Regions from separate parts of the Homo sapiens genome. Here all the other regions are linked to region 3. Evidence: promoter capture Hi-C in 16 types of primary human blood cells and fetal thymus (Javierre and others, 2016). All regions are on one chromosome and are shown on one strand. The core of a region is centred on a gene start or on the middle of the fragment in contact, and the rest is flanking DNA. Distances in the headings are between cores, read along the strand shown. Region 1 has its middle 14 kb from the start of INIP. Region 2 overlaps SNX30-DT (SNX30 divergent transcript). Region 3 holds the start of DNAJC25 (DnaJ heat shock protein family (Hsp40) member C25). Region 4 has its middle 4.1 kb from the start of WDR31.

What was found. Contacts are between HindIII fragments. The CHiCAGO score rates a contact against its expected background, and 5 or more counts as called.
Region 1: a fragment that was not itself captured here is called in contact with the fragment with the promoter of DNAJC25 in region 3 in 1 of 17 cell types (naive CD4 T cells); the score reaches 5.6 in naive CD4 T cells.
Region 2: a contact is called between a fragment that was not itself captured here and the fragment with the promoter of DNAJC25 in region 3, in 3 of 17 cell types (fetal thymus, total CD4 T cells and non-activated CD4 T cells). The highest score is 5.6, in fetal thymus.
Region 4: a contact is called between a fragment that was not itself captured here and the fragment with the promoter of DNAJC25 in region 3, in 2 of 17 cell types (monocytes and total B cells). The highest score is 8.0, in monocytes.

Annotation. Positions count from the first base shown.
Region 1 is chr9:112,730,370-112,733,069 of GRCh38, reverse strand. No RefSeq gene overlaps it. Among named protein-coding and RNA genes, the nearest start is that of INIP, 14 kb to the right of the region's middle. The HindIII fragment of the contact is 1,531 bases long and covers 556-2,086 here.
Region 2 is chr9:112,747,150-112,749,849 of GRCh38, reverse strand. SNX30-DT (SNX30 divergent transcript) reads left to right here. Exons shown (of 1, transcript NR_186503.1): 1 at 1-966. It also overlaps a transcript of SNX30 not described here. Among named protein-coding and RNA genes, the nearest start is that of SNX30-DT, 2.1 kb to the left of the region's middle. The HindIII fragment of the contact is 1,522 bases long and covers 631-2,152 here.
Region 3 is chr9:111,630,050-111,632,749 of GRCh38, reverse strand. It overlaps DNAJC25 (DnaJ heat shock protein family (Hsp40) member C25), which reads right to left and starts at 1,416. Exons shown (of 4, transcript NM_001015882.3): 1 at 1,007-1,416. The coding sequence starts at 1,342. It overlaps DNAJC25-GNG10 (DNAJC25-GNG10 readthrough), which reads right to left and starts at 1,416. Exons shown (of 3, transcript NM_004125.4): 1 at 1,007-1,416. The coding sequence starts at 1,342. It overlaps LOC107987116 (a long non-coding RNA gene), which reads left to right and starts at 1,547. Exons shown (of 2, transcript XR_001746897.2): 1 at 1,547-1,710. RefSeq lists enhancers at 683-732, 1,463-1,552 and a silencer at 1,083-1,372. The HindIII fragment of the contact is 9,325 bases long and covers 1-2,700 here.
Region 4 is chr9:113,342,981-113,345,680 of GRCh38, reverse strand. No RefSeq gene overlaps it. Among named protein-coding and RNA genes, the nearest start is that of WDR31, 4.1 kb to the right of the region's middle. The HindIII fragment of the contact is 4,375 bases long and covers 1-2,700 here.

The DNA.
Region 1 (2,700 bases), core at 72-2,571, 1.1 Mb before region 3:
TAATTTTTGTGTTTTTAGTAGTGACGGGGTTTCACCAGGTTGGCCAGGCTGGTCTCGAACTCCTGACCTTAGCTGATCCACCCACCTCGGCCTCCCAAAGTGCTGGGATTACAGGCATGAGAAGCTACCTTCTCCACTGAGAGCTGCAGAGACAACCTGTCTGCAGAGGGGAGCCACCCTCTCCAGGGCCTCCTCTCTACTGAGAACTGAACACTGGACACATGACCTGCCTACAGAGAGGAGCTGCCCACTCTGGGTCTCCTCCAAGCTGTTGTAACACTAAATAAAGCTCTTTGTCTTGTTCACCTTTCACTTGTCTGTGTACCTTCTTCTACCTGGACACAGGACAAGAACTCGGGCAAAGGTGCTGTGACCACAGAGGTTTCTGGCCAGAAAATTGACACCCCAAAGATCCCATACACATTCAGTCCATAATACATAAGATCAATTATCACAGAATAGTAGGATATTTTTAACTTTGTCATAAATTATATGTATTGCAAATTGTATTATCTTAATACAATATATTTGTTACTAGAGAATCAGTATCAAGCTTCACTTATGTTACTTATAAACCTATATATATATACACACAAATATAACAGGAATTATCAAATATTTAATATTGCAGAAATAGTTCCTTAGCCAACAGTGCAACTGTTGTGAATAGTGAACTAATTCTGACGAGCTCCAGAATCACAAATGAGAATAAGGAAAACAGGAAAATGGACTCTCACTAAAGGGAAACAATTCTCGGTTGTGCACAATTCCACTGAATTCCTCTGATCTGAGAGGAGGTATTTGGAAGTTAATAATTTGCCTTTTCTCTTACCTAAGTTCTGCTGCTCAACAATTCCCGGCACTAAAATGCACTGTCCATTTCTGACCTCGACAGAGGCATAACTCGTAAACCTTCACAGCAGTCCAACCCAGCCGCCTTTCTTTCAAGAACACAGGGCAAGAGGTGTTTCCACAGGGTATAAATGGTGTTAGTCACAGAAGCAGACGTTCAAAGTTCCAGGTTGTTCTGTGCCAGAGCCAAATGCCAGATCCCAAGCACAGAAGTTCTCATCTGTCCTTTAACAAATTTATGTGCTCGCGTGTGTGTACTGGATCCTCTAAAATGTGGCGGCAAGAGTCCCTCCTGTTTGCTTAGGTCTATGGGCAATACTGAGCCTAATGAAGCCCAAATGACTTCATACTGTGCTATATAAATGAAGAGTTTATAATCTTTTGAATAGAGGAATCTGGTGGGAGAACTGAGGTACCATGGGGCATGCAGTGATATAGGCAAGCAAACCCAAAGAAATGCATGCCGTCGCTAAGGGCATCCTCTTTACACTGTGAATAGCGATTGCATTTGCCAAAACATCAATTGTCACATAAAATGTATTAGCTAGAATGTGTCTGTTTTGTGGGTTTGGTTGTGTTTAAGTTGTAAACCTAAATTCCAAACAATTCTTAATTTTGAGAAACATCATCATATTTATTTTGGAAATCTTATAAAGGTGAATAATCTTCATATGCAGACACAGGACTAGTGTTGACTGACAACTGTTAGAAATGGATGATCAAAACTTATCATTTCTGTTGCCAATTACTAAAAGATTTCTCAAAATAAAGCCGGGCATGGTGGCTCACGCCTGTAATCCCAGCCCTTTGGGAGGCTGAGGCAGGCAGATCACCTGAGGTTGAGAGTTCAAGACCAGCTTGGCCAACATGGTGAAATTCCATCTCTACTAACAAATACAAAAACTAGCTGGACGTGGTGTTGCATACCTGTAATCCCAGCTACTAGGGAGGCTGAAGCAGAAGAATCGCTTGAACCCAGAAGGCGGAGGCTGCAGAGAGCCAAGATTGCACCACTGCATTCCAGACTAGGTGACACAGCGAGACCCTGTCCCAAAAAAATTAAAGATAAAATAAAAAAATTTATCAAAATAGATGATTTCTTTTAAAATGTTCTAGGAGAACTACATACTAAAAAGAAGCTACATAAGTGGCAGCAAGAGAGACAAGCATGTTATTAATTCAGAGCTACAGTCCCACATTTAAGTATTAGAAGGTAGATACTGAGCAGGAAGCTTCCTTTCCAACAATGGTGAGGGGGCCTCTCTGAACCTATTCTGATTCAGGGGCTGCCCAATACAAAACTAAAGATTTTTTTAAAATTTAAAAATAAAGGGAAAATACCTGTAAAATACTGCATTTTAAGCTCTTCTAAGAGGCAATATTAGCTAATGTCAATGCAAAATGTTATCTAACTTGTCTTTTCATCCACACTGCCCAACATGGTGCCTTGCACGTAGAAAGCCCTTAATAAGAAAGCAAATTGCAAAAGGATATACGGTTGACCCTTGAACATCATGGGCTTGAACCATGTAAGTCCACTTATACAGGGATTGTTTTACAACCAACTGCAGATTGATGCTACAGTGTTCATAGTATGCAAAACCCGCGTGTATATACAGAGGGCTGACTTCTATACGTGAGTTCTTCAGGGCTGACTAACAGACTTGAATATACTCGGATTTTGGTATACGAGAGGCTCCTTGAATCAATCTCCCACATGTACCAAGAGATGACTATGTATATATATATAGATAGATAAATAGCTCTCTCTCTCTCTATATATATATATATATGGTGTATATATGTATATAGTATTTATATGTATATATTATGTCAGCATTTTTATAA
Region 2 (2,700 bases), core at 142-2,641, 1.1 Mb before region 3:
CTCATCGTGAGGGACCACATTTTCCCTACCCATTCCAAACTCAAAGGTTTGCCTAGCCTTACCTGCTAAAAGGTGATGACAGATGTTGACTCTGGGATTCACTAAGGCCTCTACCACAGTTTTCTCTAGAAACAAATAGAAGAGAATGCAGAGGGTTGAAATCTACCCAAAATATCAGTCAGAGACTCTGAGCTTCAAAGACCTTCCCCTATTTCCCCCAATGTAATTTATATAGGGTTGGACCCTTAGTCCTCAAGCTATCATCTTTATCTCCTCCACATAAGCCTGCCTTGGCTGGGAAAAGTAGCATTCAAAGGGCACTGGGAACAATTTTAAATGCTGCATCTAAGGAATGCCAAGTTCTGGTCCTCTTGGAGTTGGATTAAAATTGTTAACACTTTCACATTCAAGGGCTGCTTACAACTACTACAGACCCTATTATCTGTTCTTCTGAATTAGCATGAAAATGAATAGCACAATATAACTAGAAATGAGTATTTCTAGAAATGAGTATATACATCTATAGATGTATAACATCGGTTTTTCTTATTGAATGGTGCTACTTATTTTAACAACCAGGCTGCCTTAAATATAATGGACATCCGTATGGATTAAGACTCTATACAAGCTTTCTCTTTAGTACACCAGGGGAAAGTGAAAAAAGAACCACATTTGAATTCGGCTTTGTCACTACAAGTGGGTGACCATGAGCAAGTTACTAACCTCAGTGAACCTGTTCCTAACCTAAAAAGGAGGAGAATGGAGAGCAGGTAATAATACCTTATGAGATGGTTGTGAGAGTTATATAGCATTCTTTATGTCATAGTCCTAGCAAAGTGCTGGCATAAAATAGGTGCTCCCTAAATGTTAATTACCTACCTTCCTTTCCCTTTCTGTCAGATTTTCTCTACTATTCTTATGAAATAATAAAGAGTTTTTGTAATTAAATATGCTTTACTATTCTGAGTAGGGTCTGGTTGAATATACATATATATACACACACATACACACCAGGTAGGGTGCCTCACACCTGTAATCCCAGCACTTTGGGAGGCCAAGGTGGGAGGATCACTTGAGCCCATAAGTTCAAGACCAGCTTGGGCAACATAGTGAGAGCCCCATCTCTATAAAAAATGTAAAAATTAGTCCGGCATGGTGGCACATACCTGTAGTCCCAGCTACCCAAGAGGCTGAGGTGGAAGGATTGCTTGAGCCTGGGAGGTTGAGGGTGCAATGAGCTGAGATTGCACCACTGTACTTCAGCCTGGGCAACAGAAGGAGACCTTGTCTCAAAATAAAAAAAAATATATATATATATACATATATATGTGTGTGTACATATATATGTGTGTATATGTGTGTGTGTGTGTGTGTGTGTGTATTGACCTCCAAAGTCCTCCATTTGCTCAGTTTAGATTGGAGTACCACTTTTCTATGCTCCCACCAAAAAAAGGACCCAGACCCAGAGTTCCTAAAAGGCCATATGAAATAGTTGATTACAGTTTATTTATTTATTTTCCAGTTTCCTGGTTGGTCGATAGCAGCTGGCCACAATATCCAGTGGGTAGTCATCAAAACTAAAGAAAGTGAATTTGTATGGAAAGTATTTTGGTAGAAAGTTTCCACGATGAAATTTAGCCCAGCCCTGCCCATTCATATTCACCATTTCCTGTGGTATTTCAGTGTTCCTTGTGGTGGGAAATTGTCACTGAAATAATATAAGTGTCCCAGAGCATGTGACTTTGCTTCTACTAAAAGGTTTTGTTTTTTTTTTTTTTTTTTCTTGGAGACAGGGCCTTGCTCTGTCGCCCAGGCTGGAGTGCAGTGGCGCAATCTCAGCTCACTGCAACCTCCGCCTCCCAGGTTCAAGCGATTCTCCTGCCTCAGCCTCCACAGTAGCTGGGATTACAGGTGTGTGCCACCATGCCCGGCTAATTTTTGTATTTTTAGTAGAGACAGGGTTTCACCATGTTGTCCAGGCTGGTCTCAAACTCATGACCTCAAGTGATCTGCCTGCCTTGGCCTCCCAAAGTGCTGGGATTACAGGCTACTAAAAGTTTTAAAAGCAGCATGGTGGTAAGGAGGAAACGTGTAACGTTTCTCCATCAGAGCAGAAGGCTGTGGTGTTTGTTGGAACTTATGGAGGGAAGCTTGGATTTCTAGGGTTGAGCTCTGAGGAAGATAGTAGATGTATGTGTGTGCATGAGGGGCGAGGGAGGTCCCCAATGCCACCAGAACCCAAGAACACAGCATGGAGCCCTCCCAATTCATAAGGAATCTTAGACACTTAGGCTGGCACCTTTCAGGAGACAGGGCTTTGGGCCCCAGAATTTAGTACGCTTACCAAACAAATCCTATCGACCTCACTAGCAAGCGTATTGGGGCTGCCTGTGAGCACCCAGACCTCAGAAACAAAGCAGTCTCAATGCATCATTCGCTCATTCTTTCCCCTGGTACAGCATGTGCTTAGGCCTTCTTCATGTTTGTGTTAGCCGCTTATCCTCTGGTGGTTTTTAGTACAATCATAGCTTTATTCTATATGGCATCCCAAGCCCTGCCTCAGAATAACACCACCACTTCTGAAGTGGACGGCTGGTGAGGACAAAGGACGTTTTCAGAGAGCATTCAGGATGACATGTCGCAAGCCACAGAGGGCTGTATCAAACAAGGGGGGCAAGTGAGAAGGCACAATCCCCAACA
Region 3 (2,700 bases), core at 167-2,666:
ATCATTAAAAGCAGGCTACCTGGCAACATAGAAAATTTTGCCTCGGGAAAAAAAAAAAAAGGCTAGAAAAGAAATACTTTACAACTACAATCGCTGACGCATTAGTATGATGGGGCCCTTCAAGCAGTAATACCACCATCAAGTACGATTTATACTTCGTGATGTCCTAGATGGTTTGATTTTTTGCAGTAGTAGAAGAAAACAGCATCGGGCTAAATCTCTCATCCCCACAAGACTCAATAAAACCTGTCAAATGAAATACAAATACATATTCACAAAATATTTCCTACTAGAAATTCTCAGAGTTTTGTACCCAAGTCATTAAGCACCTATTTATGGATCCTATGGAAAGGGGGGCGGTTCGCACACTTATCATTTAATCCCCATAATAACTCTGAGAGGAGGTATCATGGCCTTAATTTTGCATATGAAGAAACAGCTATTTCAACATAATAAGTCACTATCCAAGGTCATACAGGGGTGTCACAGCAAAGACTCACATCCAGCCTTTTGACTGGTGTTCATTGTTCTTCTCAGTGTTTTCTTAGTTCCTTAAACCCAAACTAAGCGTCACCATTAACACTATTTCCAGAAACCAATTTTCTGTCATATCAAACTGATGCGATCACAGTTGTCACTTGATATTCGAGACTTTCCCTGTTGTGGGCTACCCCAGATCCTACTAATAATGATCACCCTGCTTTTCGAATGTGAAATGCACGTTATTAAAATATTTTCACGAAATCGTAAGATGGCCAAAGTTTTGCATAACAATGTCACAAAAAGGAAGAGGGCAAGGAGGCTAGCTGTGCCCCCCAAGGCCCCGTGGGGCCGACTCGGCTCTTTCACAGGGCCACGTGGGAAACGTGAGTATCTTAAAGGTCGCGGTGGTGGCTGTGCTCAGTTTCGGGGTCACAGAGGCCCACGCTCCGCGGACCGGGGTCGGAAGGCGCCGTGGGCTTCCCGCGGCCAGTCTTCGAAGCCCCTCCACGCCCGCAGGCCTCACCTTGAGTGTCTCGTAGGCGGTTGCCACCAGCAGGAAAGCCTCCTCGGCGCTCTGCGGCGTCCGCCCGGGGCCCTCGTCTCCGGGCTGGGGCCGGTAGCGGTCAGGGTGGTAGCGCCGGGCCAGCTGGCGGTAGGCCCGCGCGATCTCCGCCTTGCCCGCCGAGCGGCTCACGCCCAGCACCTCGTAGCAGTCCCGCGTGCCGCAGTAGAGCCCCTCCACCAGGGCCCCCGCGGGCCGCACCAGCAGCAGCGCCGGCAGCAGGGGCGCCAGCAGCATCCACCAGCGCCGGCCGGCAGCCCCGGCTCCCCAGCCGGGAGAGAGCAGCGGCGCCCCCATCCCCAGCCTCGCTGGCGGCTCTGCCACCCCAGCGATTCTGCAGCACTCAGCCGCGCGCCCGGCTAGTCCCGTCTGGCCCCAGCTACACGTCAGCAGCCGACGCCTCCGCGCAGGCGCACAGGGCGCGGCTACAGCAACTACTTCCTTCGCAACCCGTTGGTAGGGAGAAGGACGCCTCAGCCACTAGGCTGCTTCCGGTGTGTCACTGAACACCTTCCCCGTACCAGCAGCTGGAGGATTTGTTTGGTAGCACCTGGGGGATGGCTCTGTCCCGGGCGCACTTAGGCGGGCTGTGCGGAGCGCTTTACCTTCCACAGTGTCCGGCACACGCATCCTTTTCGACATCATCACTTGACCTGCTGCAATAGGTAACCTACCTGGCTCTCTCGCATCCCGTTATCAGCGTCAAGAAGATTTGCACGTAGGCCTTTAAAGCCAGCCACCAGCCCCGGGCGCCTTCCTCTCACTAACCCCATGCTGCCTTTCCAAACGGAAGATGAACTTAGCAATTCTAGGCGCTGCCTGTGTACTAGGTAGGGACCCTGAAAGTTCATAGCCATCTAGTTCAGTTTTTCTCAGCCTCCACGCTATTGACATTTTAGACCAGATAATTCTTTGCCTTTGAGGGGCTGCCCTTTGCATTGTAAGATGTTTAGCAGCATATCTGGCCTCTCCACACTAAATGCCAGTAGTGCCACCACCCCCAGTCATGACAATAAAAAATCTCTGTACGCGGGTCTGTGCGTCCACCTTGGGCTGCGCGTTCCCGGGACAACCTGCTGGAAGGATCAAGCGATCCTTCCAAAATGCTAGGATTACAGGCGTGAGCCACCGTGCCCGGCCTACATTTGAATTTCAGATAATAATTTTTTAGTATAAGTATGTCCAAAATATTGCATGGGACTATATGGCAACATGAAAAACTTTGCCTCAAAAAATCTGTTTCTATCATTCATCTGGTAAATGTTTATTGAGTCTCTACTCTGAGCCGGGCACTGTTACTTAGGCACTGGGGATACAGTGGTGAGCAAAGTAAACAAGAAGCTCAACTTCAGAGAGCATATATTCTGATGGAGGATGACAGTCAGTAACAAATAAATAAACGTTCAGATATAATCAACTCTTTTAATAAAGTGAAATCAAATACTGATACATAGCATTATATACTTATAATACATAATGAATATACATTATAATTTTGTATTTCTCATTGAATAAATATATATCTCTCATTACATATATCTCCCTCATTACATATATAATATATATAATCTCATTACACATATATGTCTCTGTCATTACATATATAACATATATGTGTCTATTTTTCACCTCAGCCCACTAAATATTGCATGGGA
Region 4 (2,700 bases), core at 7-2,506, 1.7 Mb before region 3:
TTCCAGCTCTTTTCTACCTATAAAGCCCATGTCCTCTGTTCAGCTCATTGGAACATTCTGTTTTATAGAATTAGGTGTTGCCTGATTCTAGAAGTGCTAATAAAAGCCAATAAGATCACTCAACTACATTTGTTGTAATTTTGTCTTTGGCCTATATATACGTACATATGCACCGTGGAGAATGAATGTACTTCTTTATGAGGTCAAAAAAATTTGAAAGCTGCTTAGAGCTCTTAGGGGACCTCTGGAGGCTTCATGGGCATAGGCAGGGCTGTACTTGAACTTCAGGCACTCTGAGCTAGGGAGAGAAGAATGGACACCATTGTTACATTTTAGTCATTCAACAGATTTATTGAGCCCCTGCCAATGTGCCAGGCCTTAGACACTGGGGATACAACAGTCAAGAAGAACAAAGTCTACTTTCATGCACAAATAAAATGCAACAAATGGATATGTAATATAATGTCAGTAATGATAAGGGCTATGAAAAAGATTCAAGTATTACAAGAAAAAGAGCATGATGGAGGTGCTGGTGTAGAAAGGATGGTGTAGAAGTCCTCTCAGGTAAGTGGCACTGGAAGAAGCAAGGCATGAAAACATCTGGGGAGGAGATTTCCAGACAGAGGACTAGCAAGTGCAAGATGTCTTTCTGTACCATGAACTCTGCTCCCCAATCTTCAAAGAACCTCACACGATTTACAATGTGTGAAAAACTGCTACAAATATACTTACAGGTCCTCACACATAGGTTAAAGCATTCATTAGCTCCCACTATATGATACAAGCTGGAACATATTTATTTTACAAAATTGGGATTATGTGTACAACCTGCTCTCTAACCTGCCCTTTCACTTGCTCATTTATAACATTTGGCTTGGATCTTTTTTAAAAAACTTTAAAAAAAAAATAACTTCTGGGCCAGGTGTGGTGGCTCACACCTGTAATCCCAGCACTTTGGGAGGTCGAGGTGGGTGGATCGCAAGGTCAGGAGATCGAGACCACCCTGGCTAACACAGTGAAACTCTGTCTCTACTAAAAATACAAAAAAAAGAAAGAAATTAGCTGGGTGTGGTGGCAGATGCCTGTAGTCCCAGCTACTCGGGAGTCTGAGGCAGGAGAATGGCATCAATCCGGGAGGCAGAGCTTGCAGTGAGACGAGATTGCACCACTGCACTCCAGCCTGGGCGATAGAGCGAGACTCCGTCTCAAAAAAAAATAAAAATAAAAATAAAACAAAAAAAACTTCTGTAGAGACCTGAGTCTTTTTATGTTGCCCAGACCGGTCTCAAATTCCTGGCCTCAAGTGATCCTCCCACCTTAACCTCCCAAATTGTTGAGATTACAGGTGTGAGCCACCAGGCCTGGCCTAAACTTTTTATTTTAATGAACATTTTGGAAAGTCTTTTGGAAAGGACTATTCTTCCCTAGCCTTTACTTTCCCTCAGGCCTGCTCCTCGGTGTCAGGCCCAGCCTTTTCTGCCTGCCTGGTGGGGCCCTGGCCTGGCCCAGCCCAGCCCCCTTCTGCCTGGGCCTGTGTCCATTCCTCCTTCCTTCTCAGACACTGATCCAATATCTCTGGTGCCAGGGCTGGAAGTCATCTGACTGGGGTTTGCATGGTTTCCAGGAACAGCAATAAGACTACCAATACTGTGGCTTCTTTTCCTCCTGGGGTGTTTTCACAGTACAGCCAGCTTTAACTGTCACTTTTAAGAGGGATTTGGCAGCCTGCCATGCAGACAAATTCAGATCACATGGGTCCTCTATGATGAAGTCCAAGCCTCCCAATGACAGAGTGCTCTCTGCTCAGGCCAGACTAAACTAGATGAGAACAGCTCTCTTCTCCAGAGGGCTCTTCAGACCAGCCCATGTCACAGAAGGGGTGTTATCAATCTGGGCAAGTCCAGGAGAGAACAACCAACTCAGGCCATAAAGAGCCAAAAACTAGGATTATATTTAAATAAGGCAGAGCCACAGGCTGCCGTGGTTTGAACATGTCCCCCAAAGTTCATGTGCTGGAAACTGAATTCCCCTTGTAACAGTGTTGAGAGATGGGACCTTTAAGAGGTGATTAGATCATGAGGGCTCTGATCTCGTGCATGGATTAATGATGTTATTGTGGGAGTGGGTTCCTGATAGAAGGATAGGTTTGTCCCCTTCCCTCACTACTCCTGCATTCTCACCATGTGATGTCTTCCACCATGTCATAATGCAGCAAGAAGGCTCTCACCAGATGCAGCCTCTCGATCTTGGACTTCCCAGTCTCCAGAACCATGAGCCAAATACATTTCTGTTCATAATAAATTACCCAGTCTGTAGTATTCTGTTACAGCAGCACAAAATGGACTAAGACAAAGGCACTGGTAGTGTAAAGTTGAGGGGATGTGAAGTGAGGAGCCAGGAGAGGTCGATATGAAATTATGTTGCTTATACCCATAGCATTCTATCATGTCCTAACGGTCTGTCATGACTGTCTTTCCCTTGTAATCTTTGTTCAAAAATATTCAATGGCCATCTACTCTGTGCTAGCCCTACACTGTTCAATACCATAGCCACTAGGCCCATGTGGCTATTTAAATTTAAATTAATTAAAATAAATAACATGTAAAATTCAGTTCTTCAGTTGCACTAGCTACATTTCAAGTGCTCAATAGCTAGTAGGGCTAGTGGCTGATGTATTAGACAATGCAGGTATAGAACATT